Regions from separate parts of the Homo sapiens genome. Here all the other regions are linked to region 2. The links are contacts of gene promoters, found by promoter capture Hi-C in human tissues and cell types (Jung and others, 2019). All regions are on one chromosome and are shown on one strand. Each heading gives the region's core, a stretch centred on a gene start or on the middle of the fragment in contact. The rest is flanking DNA. Distances are from core to core; before and after follow the strand shown. Region 1 overlaps ATP8A1 (ATPase phospholipid transporting 8A1). Region 2 holds the start of TMEM33 (transmembrane protein 33). Region 3 has its middle 12 kb from the start of ATP8A1-DT.

Region 1 (4,454 bases), core at 1,518-4,017, 580 kb after region 2:
TCTGTTGCAACAACTTAATTATGCTGTGGTAGCATGAAAACAGTTACAGACAACATGTAAACAAATGGATGTAGCTGTGTTCCAGTAAAGCTTTATTTACAAATAGGCAGTGGGTGGATTTAGCCCTTGAACTGGAGTTTGCAACTCCTGATGTAGAATGCTTGTGAGCATCCCATCTTTGCACCTGGCTCCATCTTGTCTGATCACCGTAGACATCCCCATGTCCAACTCCTACCATTCTCCCTTAGCCTGGCCTTAGACCCTCAGGTACCAATTCTCTTTCTTTTCCTTGCAGTTTCAAACTACAAAGCCTTTAAACTGTAATACAGGATTATCATTATTAGAGAAACAGTGCTCCCCTGGAAGAATCACGTTATATGTTATACCCTATCTTAAAAAATGTTATACACATTGTATGTTACATGCTATACATGTACTCTTATGTGAGTACAAAGGATAAACACAGGAATGAGGTATCATCTTAGTCTCGATGGCTCAAAGAAAATCTATCCAACATGAGCTGACACTTGACTTTAAATACTAAACAATGAATTAAGGTTTAGCCAAGAAATGGGGAGAGGTGGGGAAGGATAAGGGAGGTGATTCCAAATGAGAAGAAATTACATGTACAAAGACAGATGTGTGAAAAGACACATAATGTTTGAGAAGCTGCCATTCAGTCAGTATGGAAATGATAGATGAAGTGACGTGTGGCAGTGAGGAAGATGAGGCTGGAAAAGCCAGCAGGGAATGGAAATGGAAAGGTCTGTGTGTTATGCTGACAATCCCAAAGGCAAGGGACACCTGGCGAATTTTAGAAGAGGAGAGACAGGATCAGATTTACATTTCAGAAAGGTCACTAGTAGCTGTATGGGGCTGGATTAGGACAAAAGAAGCCTGCATGACAAATTAAGAGGCTACTGCAGTCACCATTCTCTTGAGGTTTAAAATACGTTAACTCTGGAATTGGGATGTGCTGTGGGATTCTCAGAGGCATTCTACAACACTGGTTCTCAGAGGTTGCTGGGCTCCTCTGTGTTCTGCATTCCACTGGGTATCATCCTTGTTTTAAAGAGACCTAACACCTTCTTTCCTTTCCCTTTATTCTGGCCTACAGTACTAAGACTAAGAGCATTAAGTCCTTAAACCATTGGAATGGCTCATTTGCCTACTTCTGGAGAAATCATTCAACTGGTTAATTTTTCTAAGGCCAAGAAATAGATTTTAACTTGGTGCTTTTCAAACCATAGAAATCACATTTGAACTCACAAAGCCAAGGGCTTAGTTATAAGGCCAGAATTCACACACCCAGCTGAAAGGAATCAGGATGTGAGAGGTGATTGGGTGTAGCTTGCAAAAACAACGCATCCATCTTATCTGAGTGAGAAGACAGCAATACCCAGGGTGGAAAATCTACCACGAAGCATTCATAAGAAGGAACCTATCCTACCAGAAAGGAGGAGCATGTGATTAGAGATCTAAGGAAATCTTAAGTACTTTAAATAAGAAGATTCTAACGGCCAGTTGAGGGAAAATCATGAAAAACATATTTCCATCTTGTTTTCAAGGAAAATGGAATACAGTACATAGAGTACATAGAGGCTGCCTCACTAAGTAGCTGAGTCTCAAACAGGCTGATGAGCCCCACTTCTCACCCTGAGTGATCTAGTGATTATGCAACTGCACAATTGATTTCATTTTATTTTTCAAGTCTCCAATATTTTATACACATTCTTGCTTTCTTCAAAAGCAAGTTGGCAACGTAACTTACAGATTATTAGCATGGGATCTGGAATTAAGACAGAACAGGGATTTGCATCCCTGCTCTGCCAACCACTGGATATGGGTCCCTGAGCAAGTAACTTAACTTACCTAAGAATCAACTTTCACAACAGCAAGATAAACCTAATAACGTAGATTTAATAAGGATGTTCTGCAGATGAAATTACACCAGTTATCTCACAAACATTTTTGAGTATACTAGGAAAAAATGTTGAATACGTACTTATGACACAGTTATATTTTTGTAAAACATTGTTAAAATTAATAAATTATTCACATTATAAAATGCAAAAACTAAAAAAGATGAAATAAAACAAATAGAAGTTCTAATATTTTCTTGCTTACCCCAATGGATCACGTTGTGTCTCACTTTAGAGGCCCTCCAACTAAATAATCAGGGTAAAGAGTGAAAATTGCGGAGCTTAGTAAATGCTCAGAAAGTGGCAGGTCTAATTAAATGAGCTAACTATAAATGTTCTTAAGCAAATAGAACAGGAAACTACTGGAATTTTAAACCACGAAATCACCCATACATCATGTAAATTTTCATTTCATTTTTAGCACAAATGAAAGTGATATGTGCAGCTACTAAGAATAGATGTGGTAGTTTTATCTGAAGAAGCATTCCATTCTAATACAGAAGTTACTGTGAACTTGGCAGTCATGAATGCTCAAGAAAAGTCCTGTTTTCCATTAAGTTTTATATTTCTCTAGGAATCCTCTAAACCATTTGTTGCCATATGTTGCAAAGGGCACTAAATTGTTGTTTAGTCACACTGAGTGTAATGGTTGATCTATATTACGCCACATCAAGGGACTCTTTAACCATCCCCCAAATGTCAACCACGTTTTGGGGAGGGGTAAAGGAAATAATGTAAAAAAGGATCACTACCTCACTGTCCTATCTTAGTGCCTTATCTCAGTGCCCAGGGCACTAAAGCCTCTCTGGAATGACATTGTTTTAGTTTACAAGTTCACTACCTATCTCCCACCACTGAAACAAAAGGCAGAAATTCTTCTATCCTCTCCCTGCTGAGCCCTAGAGCCTAGAACAGAACCTGCCACGCAGCGGTGCTCAGATATTTGTTGCTGAATCTTTCCAACCCATGATTTTCTCACATTTATATATCAAGTAACTTTGAAGACAGGTTTTATAAATGAACGAATCTAAACTTCTAAAGAATGCCTTCTGTAAAATTATTGGCTTCTTTTCTAACATACCCCTAAATTAATCCTTAGTGATAGCACATTTGATACCAGTGCCTTCAATGCATGGAAAGCATGAACTAGATTTGTTAATAGGGGGCAGGCTTTCATTAAGCAAGTACTTATTAAGCTCCAACTTCTGAATTAATTATTTAAATGAATAATTCATTTATTCATCAAATATTTATTGAGTGGTTAACATAGGCTAGTCAGTCAAGCGCTGGAGACACAGTGATAAATATGATAAACACAGTCCCTGCTTTCGTGAAACTTCAATCTAGTGGATGACATACATCAATCACAAACTACAAAATGCACATAAAACACAACATTGCTATCTGATCAAAAAAGGCTTGACAGCAGAGTTACAGTGTTCTGAGTTTACTCTTAAGCTCAGAAATGATCCTCTAACCCATAACCTATTTTAGAAAAACTTGAACAGATAAAAGCATTGGATAAGTTTCCATTAAAAAAAAAAGTTTCCCAATCCACGCATCATAATAAGAGAAAAATAAAAATCTTATCACCAGGGAAATACTGCTTTAATCAGTGATGAATCTAGGCAGGTATTATAGCTTACGCTGTTTTCTGTAATTCTCAAGATAAATGATTTACTTTCAGAAACACAGAAATTATTAGTAGGTAATCTATGCAGTACTAAAGACATAATTGTATTTTTCTATTGAAGCAAATAAATATTAAACATTTTCAAAAAATTATGTATTCCACGAAGGCACGCCTTCATATTTCAAACAATGGTTTAATTATAAAATAAGGAAGAAAGACCAGAGACTTCTATACTATTAATTTTCAAAGGAATCTAGTAGCATAGTATGAATATGAGACAAAACATAATTTATGTGTCTTAGAAATAAGTTAGAATAAAAGTAAACAAATTTTAACAAAGAATAGAAGCTCAGACCAAAAAGAAGTGATATCACCCTGGCTCCTGATATATTAAAGTGACAGATCAAAGGTGAGAAATTTCAGAGAAACCCCTGCCAATGAAACAAGGAACTTCATAATTATTCTGTTATTTACAATTCTTCTTGAGGAAATACAAAATTTTAATTTAAAAACCTGATTTAGGCCAGGCACGGTGGCTCAGGCCTGTAATCCCAGCACTTTGGGAGGCCAAGGGGGGGTGGATCACGAGGTCAGGAGATCGAGACCATCCTGGCCAACATGGTGAAACCCCGTCTCTACTAAAAATACAAAAATTTGGCTGGGTGTGGTGGCGGGCGCCTGTAGTCCCAGCTATTCAGGAGGCTGAGGGAGGAGAATCGCTTGAACCCAGGAGGCGGAGGTTGCACTGAGCCGACACTGCACTTTAGCCTGGCAACAGAGTGAGACTCCGTCTCAAAAAAAAAAAAAAAAAACAAATTCTGATTTAAAAAATATAGGCTGACACTATAAGTGGTTTCCCAATCTAAAATTATGAGTCCTAATATGTTGACTACCTTTCA
Region 2 (4,415 bases), core at 1,291-3,790:
AGGAAGAGGAGCTGGGGTAGGAGCTTTATGCTGAATAGGTTGGCTAAACATACATATTCAACAGGTTACAGGAAGAGCTATGAATATTCATAAAAGTAGTCCTGATACATGCGTATGGAACAACATGCATGTTACATACAACCTGTGTTCACCTTGGGGTGGAGACTTAATATTTAATGTATTACAGTTAGGCTCTGTACCTCAAAAGGTGAAGCAGAGACGAAGGCACACAAGTGCATGGCCTCTGTAAAGTGGCCAGAACCAGCCTATGGTCAGTGGTCTTATCTGGAGAACGTTACTGAAATCAGTCTCTTGTGCAATCAAAGCTGTAGCTATGGTTGGTATAGCAGGGGTTCAGTTAGTGTCTGTGAGCTGGATTAGTTGTAATTGTTTTAATATTGCTTCTCTCTAGGCCAGTGGTTGTTTAGCTGCCAGAGGGAAAAAAAAAACCTCTTGTGGTAGAACATAGTTTATTTTTTAAGTGTAGGGGGTGCATGACTTAACCCTTGCCTGGCATGGCCTTAGGTCCTGTTTATAATTTGGTATCCTATTCCCACAAAGAGTTTGTTCTGTCAATGTTATGATCTTTATTGTAACATTAACATGTTAAACATAGGCTGACTTCCTAGAACTAATTTGAAAGGAAAACCCTAACTTTCCACGCCTAAGTAGTTGCTAGTCAGTTGTGTCTAAACTACAAAAGGGAGGGGGTATAATGAGGCATGTCTGATCTCCTGTCCCATCATGGCTGGGGTCCCCTTGGCCAAGAAAGGGATCTATCCAGTCAGTCGACAGACCCCTTACTTAGGATTTTATTTTTAGTTTATATATATATAAATGGCTTCACAACGAATTTCCTGACTTTTAATTTGCCCCTCTGTTCATCCTCCACCCTGTTGCCAGAGAGAACTTTCTAAATCTCAGGATGTCACACTTCTGATTAAAATTGTTCCATGGTTCTCTGGATTTCAGGGTCAAGTTCAGATCCTTTCCTCAGTACACCCCTGCCTGCCTCTCTAGCGCAAATCTTTCACAATCCCCTGACTGGTACCATCATTCTGGTCACACTCAACTAGTCCTCTCGCTGTCCTGTTACTTCTTGCACTTTCTGTTACTCTGTATGGAGTTCCCTTCCCGTTTTAAGGCAGAAGAATATGGTATGGCGGTAGGGAACCTAATGCCCTTTCTCGCTGACTTCCTAGAACTAAATTGAAGGAAAATCCTTACTGTCCACGCTTAAGTGAATAAAGGGCCAGATACTACTCCCTTTGCAAGCCCCAACCTGTTCTGCGCAGATTTGGGAAATTGAAAGTACCTCTGATTGGTTGCTTTTTGTAACCAATCAGACGTTTGCATAGAAGTGTAACTTTGTAACTTCTTCAGCCTCTGATTGGTTGCTTTGCGCAACCATTCAGACTGATTGCGGGCCACCACTTCATTTACATGAAGTGAACTCCAAGTGGCCAATGGGAAACCTCTAGGGGGTATTTGGACCCGAGAAGACTCTGTATCCAGGGCCCTTGAGCTGCTGTCTCACTCTCCCACACTCTGGAGTGTACTTTCATTTTCAACAAATCTCTGCTTTTGTTGCTTTATTCTTTCCTTGCTTTGTGCGTTTTGTCCAATTCTATGTTCAAAACGCCAAGAACTTGGACACCCTACACCAGTAACACTTTCAGCCAACTTTTTGTCGTTCAAGATCAAGGCCCGGACTTACCTTTTCCAGGAAACCTCCCCAGATCCCTTCTGATTTAGGTACCGTCCTCTGTGCTCCCTGTGATTAAATCAGCCTCTACACATATTACACAATCACTATGCTCTGATTTCCGTTTACTTGTTTCTCTTTTGCAATCTGTGTCATATTCCTCTTTTTATCCGCCGTGCCAAGTATGGAGCCTGTCACATAGCAGGCCTCATAAATACTTATTGAAAGAATTAATAATAGACGTAGAACCAACGGGCTTAGTAAGCCCCTGGAGAAAGGAATCAAAGATGTTTCTGAGGCCTCTATATCAGGAAGTGCGGAAATTTCATGGTTTGAGAATGGGCAGGAAAGATCATTTGTGAGCTGTATTTAATGCAAAAGTTGCTCCCCCATCCTGATTTCTTAGCTCACTGGGCCAATCGGCGGAAGGACAGGTGGGGCTCAAATTAGGAGAAAAAAACCACACTTCCCGTCATGCCTCTGGGCACCGCTCCCGTTTCCCCCTCTTTGTCACCGCCTCTTCCCCACGGAAATGAAAGGAGCACTTCCGGGTTCGGCAATAACCTGGAGCCGGCGGCGTAGGTTGGCTCTTTAGGGCTTCACCCCGAAGCTCCACCTTCGCTCCCGTCTTTCTGGAAACACCGCTTTGATCTCGGCGGTGCGGGACAGGTACCTCCCGGCTGCTGCGGGTGCCCTGGATCCAGTCGGCTGCACCAGGCGAGCGAGACCCTTCCCTGGTGGAGGCTCAGAGTTCCGGCAGGGTGCATCCGGCCTGTGTGTGGCGCGAGGCAGGGAAGCCGGTACCCGGGTCCTGGCCCCAGCGCTGACGTTTTCTCTCCCCTTTCTTCTCTCTTCGCGGTTGCGGCGTCGCAGACGCTAGTGTGAGCCCCCATGGCAGATACGACCCCGAACGGCCCCCAAGGGGCGGGCGCTGTGGTAAGTGCGAGGGCAGGGTAGTCTGGCTTGATTTGCAAGAGTTAGGAAGAAGCAGGAAGCGTTGCGAGTCCCGAGGCGTTCCAGAAGCTCAGTGCATTCAGGAATGGGATTAATGAGTTGGGGTGGGGAAGTTGGAGCGGGGAGAGGGGAGGTCCTGAGCGAAGATATGGAGGGAACTACAAGTTTGTTTCTGAAGCGACAATAGGCTGACCTGGAGCTGGTGGCCCCCACCTGTATGCCATGGAAATTGGGCCTTCTTTCCTCTTCTCCCACCTCGGTCTTTTGTTTACCGTAGGCCCCAAGGTTAAAGATGCCGCATGAGATTGTGCCATGACACACATGATCCATGACACACACCACGTGGAGCACACGAGTGCCGGCAAAGAACGTTTCTGCCTAGTTTATACAATCGTATATAGAAATTATGCAAAGGGAGGAGAGCGGTGGTCTTTTTCTTCTTCACTTTGTTCTTTATGAAGAGAAATATCATTATGCTTTTGTAATTTTTTTAAGATGCTGATCTGGAGCTAACAAGTTATTTGTGCCCGGAGCATTGCTGTCCTCTACTTTTTAATCCATAAGTAGTTAAGTATTATTCTGTGTGACCACAATGCAGTTACCACATTTGGGAAATATTACCTAATATAAAATCCATGTGCAAATTTCCATAATTGTCCTTTAAAGCTGCTTTCTCTTCATCTGGGATTCTGTCAAAAAGCATGCATCGATGGGCTGGCGCAGTGGCTCACTCCTGTAAGCCCAGAACTTTGGGAGTCCAAGGCGGGAGGATCGCTTGAGTTCAGGAGTTAGAGACCAGCCTTGGAAACATAGCGAGACCTCATCTCTACTAGAAATCAAAGAAATTAGGCGGGGCGTGGTGGCTCACGCCTGTAATCTCAGCACTTTGGGAGGCCAAGGCGGGTGGATCGCTTGCGCCCGAGAAGTTGAAGCTGCCGTGAGCCAAGATCGCGCCACTGCACTCCAGCCTGGGTGATAGAGCAAAACCTTCTCTCAAAACAAACAAACAAACAAACAAACATAAATTAGCCGGTCGTGGAGGTGCGCTCCTATAGTCCCAGCATAGTCCCAGCTACTCAGGAGGCTGAGGTGGGTTGTGCTTTTGCGCTCCAGCCTGGGGTGACAGAGCGAGACCCTATCTCAGAAAGCATGCATTCAATTTACTGGCCATATCTTGTTTACTGCCTTTTAATCTAGAACAGTTCTGCCCTCTCCTCCCCTTTTTTGTCTTTTAAGATACTGATAGTTTTCAAGAGTCCAGACATGTTTTGCAGCATATATAGGTACATCTAATATGTATATCTATATTATATATCAGGAAGCATTTTACATTGATTTATCCCATCATTGCAGAATTTGTTTGATTATTTGATTAAGGTGGTGTCCACCAGTTTCTCCATTGTAAAGATACCTTTTTTCCTTTCTAATTAAAAAGTGTTCTTTGGCATGATACTGTGACACTGTGTGAATATTGCTCCTCAACAATTTTTCACCCAAAGATCTAGTGATTTTTTTTTTTTTTTGCCTGATGGTTGGACAGTTTACTCTTAAAAAATGTATACCAATAGACTTTCTTAAACTTTTAAAATTGTATAATATACATAAGTGTGTACAAAATGAAACGCATAGCTCAATGATTTATTGCAGAATAAACAACCTGAACAAATAGATTTTAAGGAGAATGTTCTAAAACTAACTTTCAAGCTGTGGTGCCCAGTCATAATATTTGTTGAGAAACTGAGCACAGTAAGCTGGA
Region 3 (4,244 bases), core at 282-2,781, 730 kb after region 2:
GTCTGCCACCATACCTGGCTAATTTTTGCATTTTTAGTAGGGACGGGGTTTCAACATTTGCCCAGACTTGTTCAAACTCCTGAGCTCAAGTGATTTGGCCTCCTCAGCCTTCCAAAGTGCTAGGATTTCAGGCCTGAGCCACCGTGCCCTACCTGCCGTTATTATTTTAATTTAGTACATCCAACATTTTTCCTACTCTGTAAGTGACATAAAATTAACGATTATAGTTACTAGAGGCATTTTCTTCAGTCATGCCTTTCTTGGTAAAGTCTAATAATGCAAGTTTATGTAATCTATCATTTGTATGACAAAAGGCATCAATGTTAGATATTTAATTGTGATGGAGGATTCTATTTACTGGTTTCAAGAAACTTGCTGTAAAAATGCTCATTAGTAATATTTAAAACAATGTGCCTCTTTGGGTCATTATGTAAATGAATAAATATAAAATCACCACTGTATATTGTACTGTTGGAAAGGTAGTCTACAAATGTATATATTGATTGTATCCCCAAATATTCAACTGCACATAATGGAAAATCCCAAAGGTTCAATTGCACATAATGGAAAATCCCAAAGTAGCAGTAATTTAAACAAGGTAGAGGTTCATTTGTCTCTCATATAAAAAAAGTCTGAAGATATCTCTACACTGCCTTCAGAGATCCGGAGACTTCTATTTGTACTCTGCAATGCTAACACATAGCTTCCATCCTCAAGGTCACCTCATAGTCCTAGCACACTGAGTCAGATTCTTTCAGCATCTACTTCTGAAGCCTCAGATAAAAGTTATGTTCAGCTCTTATTGGCTCATCACCTGGCCATGTGTAGCAGATAGGGAGGATGGGAAATTAGTTATTTATTCAACCAGTAATGTACCTAGATAAAAATTTGGGATTCTGATACTTAAGGGAAGGAGAGAATGGATTAGCAGGTAGGCAGCCAGCATTCTCTGCCAAACTTTTCAGTAAATCTCAGAAATCTTTCTCAAGGTTGCATTATGAAAATTCTGGAGCTTTCCATGGACGAAATAATACATTTTGTCCAAATTGTGTTTTTAAATGTAAAAAAAAACCAGAGTTTGCATCATCCTAGAAACAGGTTACATGAAACAGGGTTTTAAACTGCTGACACTTAGCAAAGAACTTGTTAAATGTGAACCGAAATAGTATTAAACGGAGTACAATAGAGAATAGAGGCTGAAATTAATTTTGTGAGGTAGTAACTTATTAAGGTGACTTTCTGGATAAAAATAAATGGAATCTTGGAGGTGAATAAGATACTAACAAAGCAATGGATGAAGTAAAACGAAAAGATTTCTTTTAGTTTTTCCTTTGTTTATACAAAAAAAAGGGAAAAGTAAAAAAATTATTGATTTTTGAAGAGACAAGTTCCATAATGGTATTTTGGGAACATCATCTCTTAGCTATGCTCAAACTACACCGTGAGGGAAAGCGCAGAAGGAGAGCCCGGTTAGGATGCGCCTGTGGCCATCTTGTCAATGGAAGTTTTCTGTACTTATGTGTAGTTTTGGGGTCCCAAAAGGATTATCCAAAGCAAACTTCATTTTAAAAATTTAATATTCAATTTATTAAATTTGTATGTAACAAACATAGCTCTTCTTTAAGCTTTGAAATTTAACTTAATTATTTTAGTATACTTAGACATCTAAGTAGATTTAACTTAATTATTTTATTGTACTTAGACATCTCACAAATTTTGAAAATTACTTTTGAAGCGGTGTTTAATTAATGTTTGATTCCATTTATAAACTTAAACCCCCTTAAACATTTTAAACTATACTGACAAAGTTGATACATTTCCTTTTCATATTTAAGTGCTTTAGTCATCTGAAAAAGCCTTCTCAGTACTGAAATAACTATCATAATACGATAAATTTAAATTATAGAAGATATGTCTTAGGCTTTTATAAACTCTCTAATACTGATTAATTTTGACATAGAATCTTTGTCAATTAGTCTCATCACTTTAATTTGGAATTACACAGATAATTTTAGTAACAGGTCAAATTCTCCTAAATATAGTGACTATTTCTAAACCTTACTAAAAATATTAGTACTATAAGTTTGATTTACTTAATCCTATATATGTATATGTAATTCTACAGGTTCACAGCTATTGATTCTCTTGGAAACAATTATGCTATCCAAACAATTTCAGGGTTAGCATGCTAAGCACTTTCGGAGGTTATACTTTTAGCTGGCTGAGGTTGAATGTTAACCAGAGATGTCATCTGAGACATTTGAGCTCTAGCATTACAGATATCCTTGAAAATTTTATGACATTTTTGGCTGTCAATGTGCCTGAGTCCTCCAGATTCAAGTCATCCATTACCTAATACTTTTCTCTACCACATTTGGTCCATTTGGTTGATTTCAACTAGTTTATTACTGTGTCACCCCACTCTAAACTATTTTCATATTTTTTCTTATTAGGACTGGCAGGTATAGTTCTTTTAATGACATTGATTTGGATTTTGTTTACCTCCCAGTGCTTCCTCTAACTGGTACCTTTCAGGTTAAGGGCTAAGCTTACAGCCTGAATGAGGGTGACAGCAACTGGGTGGAAACAAAGTGCAAAATGGAAAGGTATTAGGAAGGGAGAATAGACAGTAAACACTAAGGTTGGGGATGGATTCCAGGAAGAGGAGACCACGTTGAACAAAGACCCAGAGGAAAGGTGGAGCTTGGCAGCTCCAAATCCTCACTCCATATCTGCCCACTCCCAACATCCCCAGCAGTTATTATGGATGGAGGGTGATGTCCTCTCCTGCTGCATTCCTGTGGGAACACCCAACCTAAAATATTTATCTAGACTAAGGTATAGAAAATCTGTAATTTCAGAGCTTCCTTGGGTCTTTTGGTGGCCAGAATTTGCTAAGCAAGGACAGACAGCTCTGTTTCCTGAAGAGATAGATTTGTCTTACCCACCAATAAGCCTCTCCCTGTGTTTGGAAACTAGAGGATGAATATGAGAGTAGTAGTTGGAATGAACATTCGTAACAAAAAGTGCTGTCTCCTGGCTGGAAAAGGGAGTGTGTGAAGATCATTCAATTTTTATAGAACAATCTCCTCTTCAGTACGAACCTATTTGGTAGTTTCTGAAAAATCATTCCTTGTTCTTTTGCATGTGTGTGTCAAGAAAAGAGATATGCCAGAATGATACAATAATTATTTTCTAACTGAGCAGGAAGGATGGTGAGACATGTCACACCAATGGAAGGACCTCATCTCAGGCAGGTTCTTAATATGCCACCCTCATCCACTCTAGCCCCCTCCCTCTGTTTATTTCATTCTAGTCATAATTACCCAGTCTCTGAGCACTAGCTTATTGAGTTCAGTGTATTGCACTGGTCTCAAGATGGTAAGGGTTTTCTGGAGTGGGAAAGGGGTTGGCAGTGAGAAGCTGTGAGAACATTTGTGGGGAAAAGATGATTGAACAGTAGGACAGGGAAGCAAGTCTAGAGACTGGCATGTGCCCTCAAGGAGAGTCTCTGTGAACAGGGTGAACTATTTTTTGTGGTGACATCATATTTACCCTAAAGTTTTGCATTTCAATTTTAGAATTTTGACATAATTTCAGATTACAGAAAAGTTGCTAGGATCCAACAAAGAACATTTTTACTATACGGTATTTGCTTTATTCTTCTCTCTTTCTTTCTCTCTATTGTTTTTTCGGAACTGTTTGGGAGAAAGTTGCTGGCATGAATCCTGTTACTCCTAAATACTTCAAAGTGTGTTTTCCTAAGGCAAGCACATTCTCTTACATAACCACAACACACTGATTAAAATCAGGAATTTAATATTAAAACAATACTATTATCTCATTTACAGACCTTCTTCAGATTTTATCTTTTGTTCCAATAATGTTCTCTAGATCATGTGTTGCATTCAGTTGTCATGTCCTTTTAATCTCTTTCACTTGGAACAGTCTTCCTTTGAATTTCATGATATTGACTTTTTTGAATAGTACAGGCCATTTGTTTTGTACACTACCCCTCAGTATGGGGTTGTCTGATGTCACCTCGTGGCTTTGGCAGGAAGTCATGTTGCGTTGCTGTCAGTGCATCCTACAGGCACAGGATGTGAATACCCCTTTCCTGTTGATGTTAACTTTGACCACTTGGGTTAAGATGGGACTGACAGGTTTGTCGACTGTAAGGTTACTATTTATCCTTTGGTAATTAGTGTTATCTGGTAGGGAGATTAGTTTTACATTGTTAATCA

Evidence for each region. Contacts are between HindIII fragments. The study calls those that stand out against the background at their distance.
Region 1: a contact is called between a fragment that was not itself captured here and the fragment with the promoter of TMEM33 in region 2, in 1 of the 25 tissues and cell types used here (lymphoblastoid cells).
Region 3: a fragment that was not itself captured here is called in contact with the fragment with the promoter of TMEM33 in region 2 in 1 of the 25 tissues and cell types used here (dorsolateral prefrontal cortex).

Annotation. Positions count from the first base shown.
Region 1 is chr4:42,512,943-42,517,396 of GRCh38, forward strand. The region is part of intron 22 of ATP8A1 (ATPase phospholipid transporting 8A1); the gene reads right to left. Among named protein-coding and RNA genes, the nearest start is that of SHISA3, 120 kb to the left of the region's middle. The HindIII fragment of the contact is 5,832 bases long and covers 1-4,454 here.
Region 2 is chr4:41,932,889-41,937,303 of GRCh38, forward strand. TMEM33 (transmembrane protein 33) reads left to right here and starts at 2,541. Exons shown (of 7, transcript NM_018126.3): 1 at 2,541-2,641. The coding sequence starts at 2,597. LOC105374426 (a long non-coding RNA gene) reads right to left here and starts at 1,787. Exons shown (of 3, transcript NR_188374.1): 1 at 1,718-1,787. RefSeq lists enhancers at 2,381-2,560, 2,801-2,850, 2,861-2,930. The HindIII fragment of the contact is 16,795 bases long and covers 1-4,415 here.
Region 3 is chr4:42,667,565-42,671,808 of GRCh38, forward strand. No RefSeq gene overlaps it. Among named protein-coding and RNA genes, the nearest start is that of ATP8A1-DT, 12 kb to the left of the region's middle. The HindIII fragment of the contact is 4,220 bases long and covers 1-3,641 here.